Linked DNA regions of Homo sapiens: regions 2 and 3 are each linked to region 1. The links are contacts of gene promoters, found by promoter capture Hi-C in human tissues and cell types (Jung and others, 2019). All regions are on one chromosome and are shown on one strand. Each heading gives the region's core, a stretch centred on a gene start or on the middle of the fragment in contact. The rest is flanking DNA. Distances are from core to core; before and after follow the strand shown. Region 1 holds the start of GRXCR2 (glutaredoxin and cysteine rich domain containing 2). Region 2 has its middle 210 kb from the start of PRELID2. Region 3 has its middle 110 kb from the start of PRELID2.

Region 1 (3,840 bases), core at 554-3,053:
AGAGTGACAGAGGGCAAGGCTGGAAAGGAAGGAAGGTGAGGCTGGTTTTTGAGGGGCTTTGCTTGTCACATGGAACAGTTAAGACTTAAGCCCTGATGCACTAGAAAAGATTTTTCAGCAAGAGACTGACACCTGTGGATTTGTTGTTTTGGACTATTGCTCTCACATCAATATGGAGAATGGAATTGGGGGTGAGTAGGGAAGTCCTTGGGAGACAGCTGCAACTTTAAAAATCAAAGTGATGAGGGTTTGCCCTAGGGCCAGGGTGATAGGGGTAGATGAAAGAAGGCAGTGGTGAAAGAATCCATGTGAATGGGCTGGGTGCGGTGGCTCATGCCTGTAGTCCCAGCACTTTGGGAGGTCAAGGCAGGCGGATCACGAGGTCAAGAGATTGAGACCATCCTGGCCAACATGGTGAAACTCCATCTCTACTAAAAATACAAAAATTAGCTGGGCATGGTGGCGTGTGCCTGTAGTCCCAGCTACTCGGGAGGCTGAGGCATGAGAATTGCTCGAACTCAGGAGGTGGAGGTTGCAGTGAGCCGAGATCGTACCACTGCACTCCAGCCTGGCAACAGAGTGAGACTCCGTCTCAAAAAAAAAAAAATAAAATAAAATAATAAAAAAAAAGAATCCAAGCGAATGGCTGTAGGGGAATAGGAGGGGTCAATTTGGGTAACTCAGTAAATGGTGATGCTGGTAGCAAAGACAGGGAGAAAGGCTTTACTCCACTTTCAGCTCCTCACATCCAACCTACCATTTTCTACCCAGCCCAAGGGCCCTTTTCTTTACAAACCTTCTTCCATCCTTGTCTCCTTAGAGACCACTTCCTTCCCAGAGTGGCTATTCTGGGATTCAGCTGTGGGCAGTTTGCTCTCTAAGCATGAGGTTATTATTTCACCTGTGTGAGGTCTGTATGGGATTGTAGGACTGTTCTCAGGCCCAGGTCACATGCTTCTGTGCTATTCACTCCAGCCACTAGTTCAGTGTCAGGCATTTACGAAGTCCAACAGGCAATGGGGACTTGTGCTGTGATTGCAAATGAAATCTTAAATGTAAAATACATACCAAGTGGAGGTGCTCTGGTTAGCGTAGGGGGAGAAGGCCCAGAATCCAGGACCCTCGGCCTTCTCCTGTTCTTAGCAGCAGCCTCCAAGAACCTCCACTGTATCTAGGACGTCATTCCCTCTTCTAGAACCAGAACTGGAAAACTTCTGGTTGTGTGGGCTGATCTTGGGTTTTGGAGTCAGATAGATCTGGGTTCAAATCCCTGCTCTGTCACTTACTTAGGTGTAATAGAGCAGACAAATGATGAAGATAAATGACAAGTGGCTCTAAGCCTCACTTTCCCCTGTGTAAAACAAAGGTAAGATTTTCTTTGTAGGGTTATCGTGAGGATGAAATAAAATAATGCATGTAACAATCTCTGGTACTTATGAAATGCTCACTAGATTTTAATTGTCATTGCTAACAATAAGAAGACACTTGTTAACTAATTGAGTGTCTGATCCTTATTGAATTGGCACATGTTCAGTCTAAATAAACTTCTTCATCCTCAGGTTAAGAAAGGTTAGGGTTGGGGTGAAGTCATGGTGAGCTTGGGATTATGAGAAGAATCAATCTTGTCTTATATTCCATCCACTCCATCAAACCAGAATCACCTGCCTTTTCATGAGGGTCTATCAATATTTAATGTATGGGTGTCAGTTGCTGTAAACTGACCATACCCCAGCAACAACTTGAATTAATTATATGCAGGAGGAGAGAAAATAAAATGCCTTTTTCTCAGAGGCCCAAGTTTCACCGGCTGCACGGAAGGCTGGAGACCACAGGGTCAACTTTCTGCTGATGGAGGACCCTGAGAAAAAGCTGAATCAGAAGAGTGATGGCAAACCCCGGAAAGTACGATTTAAAATCTCCTCCTCCTACAGCGGTCGAGTATTGAAGCAGGTCTTTGAGGATGGGCAGGAATTAGAGTCACCAAAGGAGGAATACCCTCACAGTTTTCTGCAAGAGTCTCTTGAAACAATGGATGGTGTTTATGGGTCTGGGGAAGTCCCCAGGCCCCAGATGTGCTCCCCTAAGCTGACTGCTCAGAGGATCAGTGTGTTTAGAGAGGGTAATGCCTACACCTTGGCAGGCGGCCAGCCTCGGTTCAACGATTACAAGGCGAATGACCATAAGGTTGGTATTGTGCATGGCATATAGGCTTTAAGGGTAGGGCTTCCTAAAACGTGTTTAGAGAAACTCCTAAATGGTTCAGATTTGTGTCTTGCTCCCCCTCCGGTACCAACCAGAACTGTTGGTGCACCAAATGGGAAGTTGTTATTAGACGAATATTTCTGGGGTAAAAATAACATGCTTGTTGACTACTAATTGGAAAGTGCAATGAGCATATATAGTATTCAAATTCCATCCAAGGTAATACATTGTAATTGGATCTTTGACTGAGTTTTCCTGGAATGTAAATTAAATAGAGGTGCAGTGGTTTTCAGGTTGTCAGACTGCGGTTTTAGACAATTATGCAGTCATTTTGTTTCCTGAAAGAGCTGAGTATTTGAAAGTGCTCATTTTACTCCAGCCAATTACTCAGCTTGCAGTTTATCCATGTCTTGTTTTTTACCCCTATTGCCTTCCTCATACTGCCTGCTTTGTCTATTTATTTTTCCTTTCCATTGCTCCTTAGCATAAGCTCTGGGTAGTTGGAGTCCTGGGAAGGGATGGTGAAACGCAAATCAGCCAGAGGATATGTTATGTGAGGAAGAAGTTTGAGCTAATGGTTCGATTGAAGAATGTGTTTAATCTATGAATTTCAATTACTTCCCAGTACCATGGATAATCAAAAGTCCATACATGATTTTCTTTTAAGGTAGAACCTGGAAAACATACACTGGTATCCAAAAATTCATAGGAGATGTATATATGCTGTCAGTGGGACCATGAATGACTTCTTAAAAAAGATAAAATACAATTATATAATGTATCCACGTTATTAATGAATAGCACACCAGGATGTGTTCTCATCTTTAAAGTGTGAAAGCCAGATAATTACTCTTGAATTATTTTTATTGTTAGTTTCCTAAGGGAATAGATAACACATCTATTGCAGACAAATGTATTACTGGCTTTACTGGCATTGGTAAAAGTATAATTATGGGCATGTTCACAATTACCGAAGATAACACTAGGCTTGTTTTTGATATTAAAAGGGGCTGAAATGAATGACCTCTTATCTTAATGGGGTGACGTATGCAGTACAAAGTGTCATCATGTACTATCTCTGTCTATATCTATGGCATTGGGTCTTTACTATAACCTTGGGGAGAAAGGCCAAAGTATGGTCATTCCCATTTTGCAGAAGAGAAAAATTGAGTGCCAAGTTGTTAAGGGATCCATCTGATACTACAGGGTCATTGGGTACAGAGTCAGAATAAGAATCCAGATCTTCTGATGCTACAAATGTTTTGCTTTAGGGCATGTTCCTTTTTTTAGAGAACCATATTATTACATAATAATAATAGCTACCATTTGTTGAGTGCTTATTAGGTCCTAGGCACTTGGCTAGTCTTGTACTTATACTATTTCTTTTTAACTATGTCTTATTTGTAGATTTAGAATTTACAAAGTCACAGTTCATGCAAACCTTATGCAAGGCCACAGTAGATAAATTTTGGGTTGCTTGATCTTCATAAGTCATGTGCTAAATTTAGCATTTATGAAAATGTATAATTTTTTTTTTCTTTTTTAGAGACAGGGTCTCATCTGTCAACCAGGCTGGAGTGCAGTGGTATGATCATAACTCACAGCAATCTCAAACTCCTGGGCTCAAGGGATCCTCCT
Region 2 (3,840 bases), core at 378-2,877, 250 kb after region 1:
ATTCTTTTATTAACGAATACACAATAAATATTATTATTATCTCACAGGCATATAATTGTTTTGGTTCATCTATATTTCCAACAGTTTCTTTGCTCACTAATCATTGTATCTCAGATTTGTTCCTGGAGAATATAATTTAGGATTTCCTTTAGCATAAGTAGTTACTGCTAAAGTCTGTTAGTTTTCATCTTAAAATGACTTTATTTCACTACTATTCTTTTTGAACAACAGCTTTATAGGGATATAAGTCACATATCATACAATTTACCTATTTAAAGTATGCAATTAAACAGTCTTTAATATGTTCACATAGTTGTGCAACTATTACCACCTTAAAGTTTAGATCATTTTATTTACCACCTGAAAAAAAATTTTGTTCTTATTAGCAGTTATTCCCCAGATTTCCTCAACTCCCAGCCCTAGACAATGGCAAATCTGTTTTCTGTCTCTAAAGCTTTGTTTATTCTGGACAGTTAACATAAATGGAATCATATAATAGGTGGTTTTATTGGATTGGCTTCTTTCACTTAGTGTAATGTTTTCCAGGTTTATCCATGTTGTAGCATGTATCAGTAGTTTTTTTTCTTTTTGTTTTACTTTTAGTTGACATGTAATAACTGTACATATTTATGAAATACAAAGTGATATTTTAATACATGCATGCAATGTGTGATGACCAAATAGAGTTATGAGTGTATTCATCTCATTCATCATTTCTTTGTGTTATGAACATCCGAAATTCTCTCTTCTAGCTTATTGAAAATATGCAGTAAATTCCTGCTAACCATATTTATCCAACAGTGCCATAGAATACTAGAAGTTATTCCTCCAATCTAGCTATAATTCTCTATCCATTAACTAACCTCTTTATCCTCCATTCCCCCTACCCTTTGATGCCCCTAATAGCTACAATTCTACTGTCTTCTTCCAGGATCTCATTTAATTAATTTATTCATTTTTGCCTCCCATATATCAGTGAGAACATGTGTATCAGCAGTTCATTCCTTTTTATTGTAGAATAATATTTCATTGTATGAGTATGCCACATTTAATTTATCTATTCAGCAGTTGATGGGATTTGGGGTTGTGTCTACTTTTTTGGCTTTTATCACTAATGTTGCTAAAAACAGTGGTGTGTACAAGTTTTTGTGTAGATATAGAATGTCAAATCTCTTTGTATACAGCTAGAATTGCTAGGGCACATGGTAACTCTTTTTTGCCAAGTTGTAGCTGCACATTTTACATTCCTACCAGCAATGTATGAGTGCTCTAATTTCTCAATATCTTTGCTAGGATTTGCTGTTGTTGTTATTATTATTATAATTTTATGATAGCCGTCCTAGTCAGTGTGATGGGTTTGATTCACCTTGCTTAATGACTTAATGATGTTAAACAATTTTTCATGTGCTTCTTAGCCATTTGTATATCTACTTTGGAGAAATGTCTATTCAGATACTTTGCCAAATTTTTAAATTGTCTTAACAGTCTTTTTACTGAGTAGTAAGAGTTATTTACATATTCTGGATACAATTTCCTATCAAATATATTATTTTTATTTTTGGCAGTTAGTTTTTCTGGTATGCAACTCTTCTTTAGGCTGACAATTATTTTCTCACTACTTTGATGATGTTATTCAGATGTCTTCTGGCTTTCATTGTGGCATTTGAGAAGTCAGATGTCAGCCTAATGTTATTCTTTTGTAAGTTATTTATTTTTCCCTGGCTATCTTTAATTTTGTGTGTGTGTGTGTGTGTGTAACAGGGTCTTACTCCGACACCCAAAGCTGTGCCATGGCTCACTGTAGCCTCGACTTCTGGGATCAGGTGATTCTCCCACCTTAGCCACCCACGTAGCTGGGACTACAGGTGTGCACTAACACTGCATTTTGCCATGTTACCGAGGTTGTTCTCAAACTCCTGGGCTCAAGTAATCTGCCTTCATTGGCCTCCCAAATTGTTGGCATTACAGGCATGAGCCACTCACTACACCTGGACTTTTTAAAAAAAATTTATTTTTTAGAGAAGTTTTATATTTAAAGTAAAATTGAGAGGAGGGTACAAAGATTTCCCCTATACCTAGTGCTCCCTCACATGCGTAGCATCCCCCATTTTCAATATCCCCCACAAAAGTGCTACCTTTCTAACAGTTGGTGAATCTACATGGATCATCATTATCAGCCAAAGTCCAAAGTTTACATTAGGGTTAACTCTTAGTGTTGCACATTCTGTAGGCTCGGACAAATGTATACTGATATGTATTTACCATTCTCTGGCTGCTTGTAGATCTCTTTGCTTTTGGTGTTTTACTGGAGTTATGCTTTGGTGTTTCACTATGATATTTTTAAATGTAGATTTTTCTTTAATTTATGTTGTTCAGCATTCAACATGTTTCCTCTCTTTTTGGACTGTGGTAATTTAGGGCGACTACAAATAATGCTGCTATGGATAATATGAATGTGTTCAGGTTTACATATGCACATGGCTAGGAGCAGAATCACTGCCACAAAATATGTGTACTTTCAGTTTTACCAGAGAATGATAAACTATTTTCTGAAGAGCCTAAAATAATTTACAATAGTCTTTGATGATTTCCATTGCTTCTCATTCCATCAATACTTGAAATTTTCAGACTGTTTAAATTTAGCCCATCTGGTGGGTATGTTGTAACCTCATTGTGGTTTCAGCTGGAATTTCTCTATTATTATTTGATTTTCATATATTTACTGATTGTCTTGATTGATAATGGGTTTTCATATGCTTTATGACCATTTTCCTATCCCATTTTCAAGTTGCCTGTACAGGTATTTTACCTATTTTTTAAAATTGAATTGTCGGATGTTGAGGAGGCATCATGGTGGATGCGAGGCAGGGCTAGATTGCAGCTCCAACTCAGATGGACAGAGCAGCAGGGGGAGGCTCACATCATGAATTTTAGCTCCAGAATGACCGCAGGAATAAATCAGGAAACCGAGAGGACCCTCAGACTCTCTGAAGGAAGCAGACTGCTCCTACAGGACCTGGGAGACACCCCAAATACTGTGAGTGCCCAAACTGTGGAAGTGGGAAAGGGAGATCCTCTGCCCCCAGGCACACACTCCTGCTAGGGAAACTGAAGGTCTAGTTTGCAGGAGAAGATTCTGACCTTAGCTGGAGCTGAGTCAATTTAGACAGCCGAGTGAAATACAGGGGTAGAGGAAGCAGTGGAAAAGGCCCTGGGAGCTTCCTGCGTCCCCACACAGGCCATTCCTGCCTAACATCACAGGTCCTTTGGGAGCGTGGCCACAGGCAGGAGGAATATGCCACAGGGAGAAGGAAGCCTCCAGCTGAGTCTTGTAGCTTTTGAACTTTGAACTTTTGAACTTTGAACCAGTGGAGAAACCTCCTGGCCAGAAGTTGGGAGAGGGCACCAATCTGGTGTGCAGACTCCACACGTGGGGGAAGAACTAAGGCCTTTTTCTTTCACAGCTGGGAGGCGGGTAGCCTGGGACAAGTTCTCAGCCCTGCTTGCCCACTGCCTGGAAACAGGCTCAGTGCTGTTAGCGGGGGTATGGTGGGAGTGAGACTGGCTCTACAGATTGCATGGAAGCTGGGTGAGGCCTGTGACTGCCAGCTTTTCCCCACTTACCCTGACAACCTGCATGACTCAGCAGAGGTGGCCGTAATCCTCCTAGGTACATAACTCCATTGACCTGGGAACCTCATGCCTATCCCCCAGAGCAGCCACAGCAAGACCCACCCAAGGAGGGTCTGAGCTGAGACATGCCTAGCCTTGTCCCCACCTGATGGTCCTTCCCTACCCACCCTGATATCTGAACACAAAGGGCATATATACTTGAGAGTT
Region 3 (3,840 bases), core at 875-3,374, 140 kb after region 1:
TTAGTGATAGTGTTATTATTGTAATTATTGTAACCATTGTCACAGAATGTCCAGACTGGTATGCAGGTATAGCTCATTACCAGGAGGAAAACACAGAAGGTGATATATAGCAGCTTTTTACTTTCCTCATTGAACTATCCTTCGGTCTACAAAAGTGTACTCTAGGAGATAATTCAGAGGCTTCTGCTGTCTTTAATCTCCTTATCTCCCTTCTACTCCTGAGGGTTCAGATTTCCCCCTGGAATCAGGGACATGAAGTCCTCTATTCTGGTCCCTGCTGAGAGGGAAAGGTAGACCTTTATGGCCTGTGCCTTCTTTTATAGAAAGAGGCGCAGGTATTTCTGATTCATCGTAATGGAGACAAAAACTCTTTTCTTTGCTAAATTTGACAACTTCTCATAGCATAATTTCAAAAGTAGTGAGGGGTAGAAGGAACAAAGTATAGTGAGGAAGGGAGAAATGACCTGCCATGTTGTAATTAGCCTCATTTTACTAACGAAAACAGTAAGGCTAAGAATGATTTAATGTCATGCCCCAGATTATTCAGATAGTAAGTGTTTGGCTCCAAATCCAGTGCTTTTTCCCATGTCGTACTCTCTAACAATTTGGAATGAAGAGTTCCACAGTGTTCAGACCACTTTGATGGGTGAATACCTCTCTGACAAATTGGACTCACTGGATTCCCTGTCAGTATGCATCTTAGTCACTCTGCATTTTAGGAATGGAGCAGGATTATGGCTGAGAATAGAAGCCGATATTAACATTTGCCTTGGTCCATAGCTGTGATCAATGGATCAATGAAAGGATCCTTATGTTCAAAACTGAGTATGTTCCAAGAACTCTGGGAATCCCAGCAGATAATTTCCCCTGTGAAATGCAAATATATGCTTTAAACATTAGTACACATGCAACAATGTAGAACATGTAAGAGTTAAAGAGGAAAGAAACACGAAATGCAGCTGGCAGTTAAAGACAGGTTTTCTTTAGTTAAAACCTGAGAGACACTCCTGGCCAATTTCTATCAGGAGTGCTTTCTCTTACAGATTAAGAGTATGTATTAGTTTTAGGGTGAGGGGGCTTATCAGAAGCTTCGAATGTTACTGTTTGAGGGAGAAGTTTTATGGTGGGGTTGGAATGTCTCTGGGTGGAGGGGAGTTTGCCTTGGGGCAGGCATCTTTCCGGCCAGAGGGATGTCATCTCGAGACTGGCATCTTCCCAGCTGGAGGGGGTTTATCTTAGGGCTAGCCTGTCTCTGGCTGGGGAGGAGTTTGGAATGTTTCTGGTTAGAGATGTTATTTGTGGTTTATGGTCATGCCGACCTTAGTCATTAGACTGATGCCCTTTGGATTTAGGCAGTTTTTTTTTTATTAAGGTGAACTTTAGAATGAGGGGCTTGTCCAAGATGGCGATGCTCCTGCTCTGTCAGAACAAAGTTGCGATGTGATATGATGTGATGTGGATGCTGAGTAGTTATCTAGGCTCACTCACAGGTAACAAACTTGCTTTTGTACTTCTTCCAACCAACCTCATCCTCATTAGCATGGGTGATTCAAATTTATGCCTCAGCAAAATTACAAATGACTCCTGTTCATGGATCTTCATGCCATGCATGAATAGTCAAAATCACCTTAGTTTGGCATTTTGAGAGTGTGCTAGTTATTAGTGCTGCTTGTTAAATATTACCTGCTTTCTACATTACGGGCATGGGGTAGAATTACACTTCTCTTCTCTTCTTTGAAATTGGGCATGGCTATGAGAATTACTTTGGCCAGTGTGTTGGGAGAAAAGCTGAGTGTTGGGAGAAGCTGAGGCAGGGCTTGCATGTCTGACATAATGTAAAAGAGTCTTGGAACATGTCCAGGGTCCAGGGTCTAAAACTCCTCATGGCCTTTGGAACACTAAGCTCTGTGCTAAAGGGTGGAAGGCTACCCTGACGCACCATAATCTAAACCCAGGGCATAAATCCCCTTGTGGCTCTGGAATGTGTCTAGACTTGCTGGCTCCTTGCTTCTAGCCCTCTCAGGCTCCTAGATTGATTGTGTCTTAGAATTGGCCATATAAAGGCTAAACCATCACAACTGTAAATCTTGTGCTTAATGCAATGCTCCCTTTCAACCCCACATTCTCACCACCTGTTTCTTTGATCACCAATAAATAGTCTGGGCTTGCAGAGCTCAGGGCCTTCACAGCCTCCATACTCACATTGGCCCTCTGGACCCACTTTATCTCTCAAACTGTCTTTTCTCATTCTTTTGACTCCACCGGACTTCATTGCCCCCACGACCTGGTGTTGGGTCTGATCACCCCAACATTCCTGGCTGCCCAACATGGGGCAAGAAAGACCCCGGTGAAGGAATGCTAGAGCATGTAAAAGCAGAGGACGCATCGTCAACGGACACCCAAGGATGACTGAAAGAAGCTCAGTGGGAAAGCTGAGTACTCGGAAGAACCAGGGTAACAATGGGACAAAGTGAAAGCAAACATTCTGCTTACTTGAATTTCTTAAGGCATTTATTATGTAGAGGGTGAGGCATGGGGTGTAAGACCCAGAGGAATCTGAGGCTTGTTTATTCAGAGGGCCCCACTTAGAGAAAAAGAAGACAAAGTGAGGACTTAGAAGGAACCTGGGCAAGTAAAGTCATCTTGAAGCTTCAGTTTCATGGGTAACCTGCCTCTGCTAGAGAAAAACAGATTTAATGAGAACAGAGGCATGATATGGGCTAAATGTAAAGAAATTTGGACTCAAGGCCCCAAGGAATATTTGTTTGAGTTGTGGAATATGCTTGATTTTGGTATGTTAGCAATTTTTGCAGCATCATTCATTGTAAGATTCAGGGCATTCTGGCATGCTTCCGAAACCCAGAGCATCACTGATACAAATGATACTTTGAAGGACTTGACAAAAGTCAAAGAAGCTCAGTGGGAAAGCTGAGTACTCGGAAACCAGGGTAACAATGGGACCAAGTGAAAGCAAACATTCTGCTTACTTGAATTTCTTAAGGCATTTATTATGTAGTATTTCACATTATCTCCCAATGTTACTTTGGCCAGGAGGGAGTGGGACCCCTCTGATCCTCAGATTGTGTCTAAAGGTCTTTGTGCAGTTGCTGTGGTTTTGAGTTTCTCTGGGATAGCTTGTATTTTGCCAGCAAATGAAAGCTTTGGACCTCTGCAGATGTCACTTGGAGGAGCAGTCAAAGACATCTTCAGGTTCATGGTCATATTCATTATGGTGTTTGTGGCCTTTATGATTGGAACGTACAACTTCTACTCCTACTACATTGGTGCAAAACAAAATGAAGCCTTCACAACAGTTGAAGAGAGTTTTAAGACACTGTTCTGGGCTATATTTGGACTTGCTGAAGTGAAATCAGTGGTCATCAACTATAACCACAAATTCATTGAAAATATTGGTTATGTTCGTTATGGAGTCTATAATGTTACAGTGGTCATTGTTTTGCTAAATGTGTTAATTGCCATGATCAACAATTCATTCCAGGAAATTGAGGATGATGCTGATGTGGAGTAGAAATTTGCAAGGACCAAACTCTGGTTTTCCTGCTTTGGGAGGGGAGAACACTTCCTGTTCCCTTCAATCTGGTTCCAGATCCGGGGTCCCTGTTTTGTCTCTTGCTGAAGCTTGAAGTGTGGATTTCTGAGCTCTACCCAGGGCCATAAAAAAGGTTTCCAGGAAGATGTAGAGATAAGTAAGTAGAGATAGAGATAAATAGAGATAGATAGACAGGGACTTGCAGGAACTCACAGGAACTAACAGGTATCATAGGGACAGACAGGGACAGGCAGGGATAGATGAAGACTAACAATATAAGGTCAGTGCCC

What was found. Contacts are between HindIII fragments. The study calls those that stand out against the background at their distance.
Region 2: a fragment that was not itself captured here is called in contact with the fragment with the promoter of GRXCR2 in region 1 in 2 of the 25 tissues and cell types used here (lymphoblastoid cells and thymus).
Region 3: a fragment that was not itself captured here is called in contact with the fragment with the promoter of GRXCR2 in region 1 in 3 of the 25 tissues and cell types used here (bladder, liver and mesenchymal stem cells).

What each region holds. Positions count from the first base shown.
Region 1 is chr5:145,870,977-145,874,816 of GRCh38, reverse strand. It overlaps GRXCR2 (glutaredoxin and cysteine rich domain containing 2), which reads left to right and starts at 1,803. Exons shown (of 3, transcript NM_001080516.2): 1 at 1,803-2,184. The coding sequence starts at 1,849. The HindIII fragment of the contact is 8,071 bases long and covers 1-3,840 here.
Region 2 is chr5:145,618,739-145,622,578 of GRCh38, reverse strand. It overlaps a transcript of PRELID2 not described here. Among named protein-coding and RNA genes, the nearest start is that of PRELID2, 210 kb to the left of the region's middle. The HindIII fragment of the contact is 4,857 bases long and covers 1-3,840 here.
Region 3 is chr5:145,728,217-145,732,056 of GRCh38, reverse strand. It overlaps a transcript of PRELID2 not described here and the pseudogene TRPC6P2. Among named protein-coding and RNA genes, the nearest start is that of PRELID2, 110 kb to the left of the region's middle. The HindIII fragment of the contact is 4,568 bases long and covers 1-3,840 here.